Linked DNA regions of Homo sapiens: region 2 is linked to region 1. Evidence: promoter capture Hi-C in 16 types of primary human blood cells and fetal thymus (Javierre and others, 2016). All regions are on one chromosome and are shown on one strand. The core of a region is centred on a gene start or on the middle of the fragment in contact, and the rest is flanking DNA. Distances in the headings are between cores, read along the strand shown.

Region 1 (4,089 bases), core at 1,470-3,969:
GAAAGCCATTCTCCTGCCTTAGCCTCCTGAGTAGCTGGGATTACAGGTGCGTGCTGCCACAGCTGACTAATTATTGTATTGTTAGTAGAGACTGGGTTTCGTCATGTTGGTCAGTTTCCTGGTCTCAAACTCCTGACCTCAGGTGATCTGCCCACTTTGGCCTCCCAAAGTGTTGGGGTTACAGGCATGAGCTACTGTGCCCAGCCATTAAAAATTAATTTTTTCTTTAAGAGACAGTCTTGCTCTGTCACCTGGGCTGAAGTGCAGTGGTGTGATCATGGCTCACTGCAACCTCGATTTTCTGGGTTCAAGCAATTCTCTCATCTCAGCCTCCCCAGTAGCTAGGACTACAGGTGCACACCACCATGCCTAGCTAATAGTGTTGTGGTTTTTTTTTTTTGAGGCGGGGTCTCACTATGTTGCCCAGGCTGGTCTCAAACTCCTGCGTTCAAGCAATCCTCCTGCCTCAGCCTCCCAAAGTGCTGGGATTACAGGAGTGAGCCACTGTGCCCAGCCATTAATATTTAAATTTTTTGTAGAGACAGGATCTCACTACATTGCCCAGGTTGGTCTCAAACTCCTTGGCCTCAAGTGATCCTCCTGCCTCAGCCTCCCAGAGTGCTTGGAATACAGGTATAAGCCACCTCACCCAGCTGTGTGGGAGCATTATTAAAGGTTTTTTTTCAGACAGAGTCTTGCTCTGCTGCCCAGGCTGGCATGTCTCAGCTCACTGCAACCTCCTCCTCCAGGGTTCAAGTGATTCTCCTGCTTCAGCCTCCAGAGTAGCTGGGACTACAGGTGTGTGCCACCACACCCGGCTAATTTTCGTATTTTTAGTAGAGACGGGGTTTCACCATGTTGGCCAGGCTCGTCTCGAACTCCTGACCTCAAGTGATCTGCCTGCCTTGGCCTCCCAAAGTGCTGGGATTACAGGCATGAGCCACAGTGCCTGTAATCCCAGGCACTGCACTCCAGCCTCGGTGACAGAGCGAGACTCTGTCTCAAAACAACAACAACAACAAACTATTTCATCATATATTTAAGGATCAGTTTTTTAAGCAAGTCGTCTACTCACTTTCCCTACCTTGCTCCAAAAGCATAAGCATGAATTATATGTTAAATAACACCTTCCTGAACCTTGTCAAGGAAGTCCATGAAAAATACAGATTAAGATATAGTTATAAATAAAAATAAAAATTTACAACTGCAAATCAAAAAGTAAACTATGGCTGGCTAAGCTTACTCCTAAATTCTAATTCTAAAGGAAGATTTCTCCAAACAGCAGGTGGATGAAATTTCAATGAACTCAAAGAACACTACAGAAGAGGGTAAAAACGTGTTAACTTTCTTCCTTGGGATTCCATCACGGTGACCCTGAGGGGTTACCAAGAATGAAATAATGGTTTAAAACAGAATGCTTCGAAACAGCAATGGCAGACTATTAACGAATGTATTAACTCTTTAAAACAAACAATCCAGTTATCCCTGGCCCACTTTCTTATTTTAGTCCTAGCAACTGAGTTACATAACTTGCAGAGTGAAATCAAGAAGTCCCCGCTGTTGCGTCCTCATGTCAGTGAACAGAGGGAACTCTCCTTTATTATATTTTCAAAAGGTGAAATGTATGAAATTTCTGGGTGGGGGGAGATATCAAATGTCTGTGTGCCTGTGGTTATTAATAAGTTAACTACGAAGTAACTATGGAATAAATAATGCTTAAAAAGAGGGCAAAGATTACGCTTTAGGGTAACAACAATTGGACCCTCCCCAGATAATTCTAATTCATTGAGCGCTTGCATAACTCGAAGTTGAGTAAAAATTTTTGATGAAATATCTCGAGTACGAGGAGTTAGTCCAATGCAAAGTACAAGTACTGCTAAAAAGGATCCGGCCCTTTCCACTACTCATATCTTAATGTCAATACATAGAGAGAGTGAAGACTGCGAGTGCCAAAAAAATGCAGAAACCTGACCTTGCCCACAAGTCGAATAGTTCTGCACCCCTCCCCCAGCTTCCCCGGGAGCCGGTTCACGCAATCCCTATTGGTCAGTCTGCTTATTCCAGCACCTGCCTGGCAGTGATAAGGGAATCTCCAGAAGACAAGAAGGTCTGAAAGGAGGCGGCCTGGGAAACTGTGAGGCCCAGAAGGACAGGGTTCGAAGAGGAAAAGGAGGAGAGAAGCTTCGGAGGGATGAGGTCGGGCGGTTAGGGCTAATAGGGACATGGCTTGGGAGGACGGCTGGGGAACAGGGAAAGGAGATCTCTGGAGGGCCCAGGTGAGGTGACAGGGTGAGGGCCGCCGGCGGCCAGCCAAAAGAGAAGAGTGAAGGGGCTGGAAGGCCTAGGAACGCGGAGAAAGGCGAGCGGAGCTGTGAGGCGCGAGAAGGGCCGGGGCTGCAAAGGTTGGGGCTGCAGGGGCGACAGGGGCGACAGGGGCTGCAGGGGCAGGGAGGGCAGGGACTCAGGGGCCGGCCAGAGGGTGCGGACTCACGTTCTCCCACCAGCAGGATCCGCACGTCTTTCTTCATGTCGGCGGCTCTCGGGGGCCGGCCTCCGCCCGCACGCACGGAGTGGACTCCTCTCACCAGGAGCACCCACCCCACGGCGCCACCTGCCAGCCTCTTCGGCCGCCGGGGCCCGCCGCGCCGCCCCCTCAGTTGCTTCCCCGCAAGAGAGCCGGGACAGCGCCAGCTCCGCCTCCTCCGGCCCAGCGGGCTGTGGCGGCGGCGGCGGCGGCGGCGGCGGCGGCGGCGGCGGCGGCGGCGGCGGGGACGACGGCACGCGGCGAGGGACACGCGCTTTCGGAACGCGAACGCGCTCTGCGCCGGAACAGCGCTCCCGCTGTCAGGCCGCCGCAGCGCAGGCCCAGGGAGCCTCGCCCACCCTCCTTTGGGCACCGCGACCCCGGAGACACTTGGGCCAGGAATTTGAATGGCGGATTCCCTGGTTTAACCCCGTTTATTTTATAGATAGGGACAGAAATTCCCTGTTCAAAGTCACATAGCTAGAGCTTGGCAGTGACTCAGAGCAGGGATCTTCTCACCAGACCATAAACTCCGGGAGGGCAGCGATCAGCTTGCATGGTTTTCAGCTGCGTCCCCACGTTATTGGATAGGGCCGTCAGAAAATGCTTGATCGAGTAGGGCGACTGGCTCCCAGGATCCGGCGCTTTCCACTCCCCAAAGCCCGTCACCCTAGTTGCTTTTGCCTCTGATGCTTATAAAATACGATTATAAGATTCGTTTTTACGCTGTGTGAACAAGACTCCTTTCTTTATAACCAAACTAAGTGACTTTTTTTCTGTCTATGTAGTTTATTTTATGGCAGGGTTTTCGGACACTCTTCTTTACTCAGGCTTACCCAGCGTAATGCTAGACACGGAGGTGGCACTCGATAATAAACTCTAGATGATTTTTCTAACATTGCCTTAATTTTCTCGTGACCCTCTCCATCTGGAGGAATTTGTTGTTACATGCTTAATGTTTGGTACACAATGGCAAATATATATATATACATACGCGTGCGAATATATATCACATCCCTAATACTTGGCACACAGTGGGAAATATAAAATACATAAATTAATGAGGAAGCACTATCTGTGCATAATGTACATTTTTTCTATCTTAAATATTACACAATAAACACTTAAAGGGAATGAAATGTGCGTAATACCAACTTCCCTTTCTCCTAGGAGAAGTCATGTGGTCTCTTGCAGCAGTTAAGAGTTGCTGGCAAATTTCCTGGGTTTGAATCTAGGCTCCACATAATAGCTCTGTGATCTCGACTAAGTGCTTTTATTTTTACTTCCCTCAGCCACTGTTCCTTCTTCTGTAGCATGGAAATAATGATGATAATACCTTCCTCTTGAGATGGTTGTGAGTAATAAATACTATAATACTTGTCAAGCATTTGGTACAGTGCCAGACTCAGAGCGTGTGCTCTACTGATCTCAGCTATCATTATTATATTAAAAAGTCACTAAAAAGTTGTAATCCACAGATTTTTTGTTTTGTTTTGGTTTTGTTTTGAGACGGAGTCTCGCTCTGTCGCCCAGGCTGGAGTGCAGTGGCGCAATCTCGGCTCACT
Region 2 (4,215 bases), core at 219-2,718, 130 kb after region 1:
AAAGGGTAGGGAAAGATATGTCATTCTAACACTAGTCAAAAACAGTATTATGTTACTAATATAAAACACTAATTTTATATTAGTATTAAATAATGGTTTTTTGTTTGTCTGTCTGTTTTCAAGACGGGGTCTTGCCCTGTTACCCAGGCTAGAGTGCAGTGGCACGATCTCGGCTCACTACAACCTCTGCCTCCCGGCTTCAAGCAATTCTCCTGCCTCAGCCTCCCAAGTAGTTGGGATTACAGGTGCCTGCCACCGCGCCTGGCTCATTTTTGTATTTTTAGTAGGGACGGGGTTTCACCATCTTAGCCAGGTTGGTCTCGAACTCCTGACCTCAGGTGATTCACCCTCCTCGGCCTCCCAAAGTGCTGGGATTACAGGCGTGAGGCACCGCACCTGGCCTGTATGTATGTATTTATTTGAGATGGAGTCTTGCTCTGCTTCCCAGGCTGGGATGCAGTGGTGTGATCTCAGCTCACTGCAATATCCACCACCTGGATTCCAGTGATTCTCTTGCCTCAACCTTCTAAGTAGCTGGGACTACAGACGTGTGCCACCACACCAGGCTGTTTTTCTATTTTTAGTAGAGACGGGGTTTCGCCATGTTGGCCGGTCTGGTCTTGAACTCCTGACCTCAGGTGATCCACCCGCCTTGGCCTCCCAAAGTGCTGGGATTACAGGCGTGAGCCACCATGCCTGGCCAAATAATGGTTTTTAGTATAATGATTATTACCAGAAATAAAGGTTATTTCAGAATGATAAAGGGGTCAAATAATCATCAAGAGGACAAAACTGTAAATGTTTCTGCATCTAACAACAGGGCCTCAAAATACAGGACGCATAAACAGACAGAATTTCAAGGAGAAAGAGAACAAACCCATAACAATCGTTGTAGACTTCAACACTCCTTTCTCAGTAATCACTAGAACAAGCAGACAGGAAATCAGCAAGGATAGAGCAGACCTTAACACGATCAACCAACTTGACCTAATTATTACTTATGAAACACTTTACCTAACGGCAGCAGGACACATCTTTCCTATTACAAACTGAACACTCACCTAAAAAATGTTTCAGGCCATATACAAACCTCTAAATTTTTTTTTTTAATTCATCATACCAAGTATGGTCTCTAACCATAATGGAATCAAATTAGAAACCAACAACAAAGATATCTGGGAAATCCCTAAATGTTTGAAAATTAAACAATACGTTTTAAAACAAATCATGGGTCAAAGAGTAAGTCATAATAGAAATTTTACTATATTGTGAACCAAATGAAAATGAAAATAAAACATATATCACAAATTCTAAGATATGTTTTTAAAAGTGCACAAAGGGGCTGGGCGCGGTGGCTCATGCCTGTAATCCCAGCACTTTGGGAGGCCGAGGCAGGTGAAACACCTGAGGTCAGGAGTTTGAGACCAGCCTGGCCAACATGGTGAAACCCCATCTCTACTAAAAATCCAAAATTAGCTGGGCGTGGTGGTGGGTGCCTGTAATCCCAGCTACTCGGGAGGCTGAGGCACGAGAATCATTTCAACCCAGGAGGTGGAGGCTGCAGTGAGCCAAGATCGTGCCACTGCACTCCATTCTGGGCAACGGAGCTAGATTCTGTCTTAAAAAAAGAAAAATGCATAAAGGAGCACAATGGTTTAGCCTGGAATCCCAGCACTTTGGGAGGCCAAGGCAGGAAGATTGCTTGAGCCCTAAAGTTCAAGACCAGCCTGGGCAATATAGTGAGACCTCATCTCTATTTGAAAAGAAAGAAAGAAAAATCAAAGAAAATGAGGTATATATGCACGATAGGATATTATTCAGCCATTAAAAAAGTGAAATCCGGGCCGGGCATGGTGGCTCACACCTGTAATCCCAGCACTTTGGGAGGCTGAGGCAGGCGGATCACGAGGTCAGGGGTTCGAGAACTGACTGGCTAACATAGTGAAACCCCGTCTCTTCTAAAAATACAAAAATCAGCGGGGCGTGGTGGCGGGTGCCTGTAGTCCCAGCTACTTGGGAGGCTGAGGCAGGAGAATCGCTTGAACCCAGGAGGTGGAGGTTGCAGTGAGCCGAGATTGTGCCACTGCACTCCAGCCTAGGTGACAGAGCAAGACTCCATCTCAAAAAAAAAAAAAAAGTGAAATCCTTCATCTATAAAGCTAGAGGTTTGGAAAATAAAACCTATTTGCAGCAACATGGATAGAACTGGAGGACATTATGTTAAGTGAAATAGGCCAAGGACAGAAAGACAAGTATCGCATATTCTCATTCATATGTGAGAGATTAAGAAGTTGATTTCATGGAGATAGGCAGTAGAATGATGGTTACTGGGGGCTGGGAAGCAGGTAGGGATGAAGACAAGTTGATTGATGGGCATAAAAGCACAGTCAGATAGAAGGAATAAGTTTTAGTTTTTGTTTGCACAGTAGGGTAACTAGAGTCAACAATAACTTAGTGTATATTTTAAAATAGCTAGAACATTTGTTATCTTCCCAATACAAAAAAAAGGATAAACATCTGAGATGATGGATACCCTAATTAACCTGATTTGATCATTACACATTGTATGAATCTATCAAAATATTACATGTACCCTTATAAATATGTACACTCTACCTTAAGGAAACAGTGAAAAAAGAAGGTGTGGAACAACAACGACCACAACAAAATCAAAGAGGAAAATCTTTGTGAACTTGGGTTGGTCAGGCCAGGAATCAGCAAACCATGGCCAATCCACTACCCGTTTTTGTAATAATCAAAAGAATAACAATATAATTGATAATTTGTAAATTATGTGAAATTCAAACTGCAGTGTTCATAAAGTTTTATCGGAACAGCTATTCTCATTCTATAGACATTACATATTGTCTACGACTGCTTTCATTGCTACAATGGCAGAGCTGCAACAGGGACAGCAAGGCTGAATATTTACTATCTGACCTTTTACAGAAAAAGTCTGGCAAGATCTGGGTTAGGCAGAGTTGTTAGATGAACAACAAATCTGTAAAAGAAAAAATGTGGTAAAGCAGACTTCATCCAAATTTAAAACTTATGCTCTGGGAAAAAGACACTGCTAAGACAATGAAACACAAGGCACAGATGGGGAGAAAATATATGAGCATCACAGAACCTAACAAAGCACTTATATCCAAAATATATAAAGAACTCTTACTACCCAATAAGAAGAAATTGGCCAGGCATGGTGGCTCATGTCTCTAATCCCAGCACTTTGGGAGGCCAAGGCAGGCAGATTGCCTGAGCTCAGGAGTTCAAGACCAGCCTGGGCAACACAGCGAAACCCCATCTCTATTAAAAATACAAAAATTAGCCACACATGGTGGTGGCATGCACCTGTGGTCCCAACTACTTGGGAGGCTGAGGTGGGAGGATCACCTTGAGCCCAGGGTCGAGGGGAATGACAGACTGCAGTGAGCCAAGATCATGCCACTGCACTCCAGCGTGGGTGAAAGAGCGAGACTCTGTCTTAAAAAAATAAAATAAAAGAAGAATAACAATAAAGAAAGCAACCCAATTAAACATCTTAAATAAAGATTTTGGTATCTTGGCCAGGCATGGCGGCTCATGCCTGTCATCTCAGCACTTTGGGAGGCCGAGGCAGCAGATCGCTTGAGCCCAGGATTCAAAATCAGTCTGGGCAACATATCAAAACCCCATCTCTATTTAAAACAAACAAACCAACAAAAAACTAGCCAGGTATGGTGGTGCACACTTGCAATCCCAGCTACTTGGGAGACTGGGAGGTGGGAGGATGGCTTGAGCCCAGAAGGTGGAGGCTGCAGTGAGTGGTGACTGTGCCACTGCTCTCCAGCCTGGGCAACAGAGCAAGACTCTACCTCAAAAAAAAAAAAGATTTTAGTATTTTTCCAGAAACAATGATATACAGATGGCAAATAAAAAGATGCACATAAAAAGAGGCTCAGAACCATTAGTCATTAGGGACAAGCAAATTAAAACCACAAGGAGCTACCACCATATACTTACTAAGGTGGCTAAAAAAAAAACCAACAAAAACTGACAATATCAAGTGCTAGGGAGGATACAGGGCAACCGGAACTCTTCATACATTTGCAGGTAAGAATGAAAAATGGTACAGCTACTTTGGAAAACAGTTTTGGCAGTTTCTTATAAATATACAACCCGGAAATCATACTCCTAGGTATTTACTCAAGAGAAACAAGTCTGCGTTCATACAAA

What was found. Contacts are between HindIII fragments. The CHiCAGO score rates a contact against its expected background, and 5 or more counts as called.
Region 2: a fragment that was not itself captured here is called in contact with the fragment with the promoter of RHOT1 in region 1 in 15 of 17 cell types (megakaryocytes, erythroblasts, M2 macrophages and 12 more); the score reaches 16.3 in megakaryocytes.

The regions. Positions count from the first base shown.
Region 1 is chr17:32,141,132-32,145,220 of GRCh38, reverse strand. It overlaps RHOT1 (ras homolog family member T1), which reads right to left and starts at 2,719. Exons shown (of 20, transcript NM_001033566.3): 1 at 2,492-2,719. The coding sequence starts at 2,528. It overlaps LOC105371730 (a long non-coding RNA gene), which reads left to right and starts at 2,086. Exons shown (of 2, transcript NR_136413.1): 1 at 2,086-2,196; 2 at 2,508-3,995. RefSeq lists silencers at 2,439-2,498, 2,529-2,758 and an enhancer at 3,219-3,388. The HindIII fragment of the contact is 3,152 bases long and covers 2,184-4,089 here.
Region 2 is chr17:32,008,922-32,013,136 of GRCh38, reverse strand. All of the region lies in intron 1 of LRRC37B (leucine rich repeat containing 37B), which reads right to left. Among named protein-coding and RNA genes, the nearest start is that of LRRC37B, 3.6 kb to the right of the region's middle. The HindIII fragment of the contact is 9,549 bases long and covers 1-4,215 here.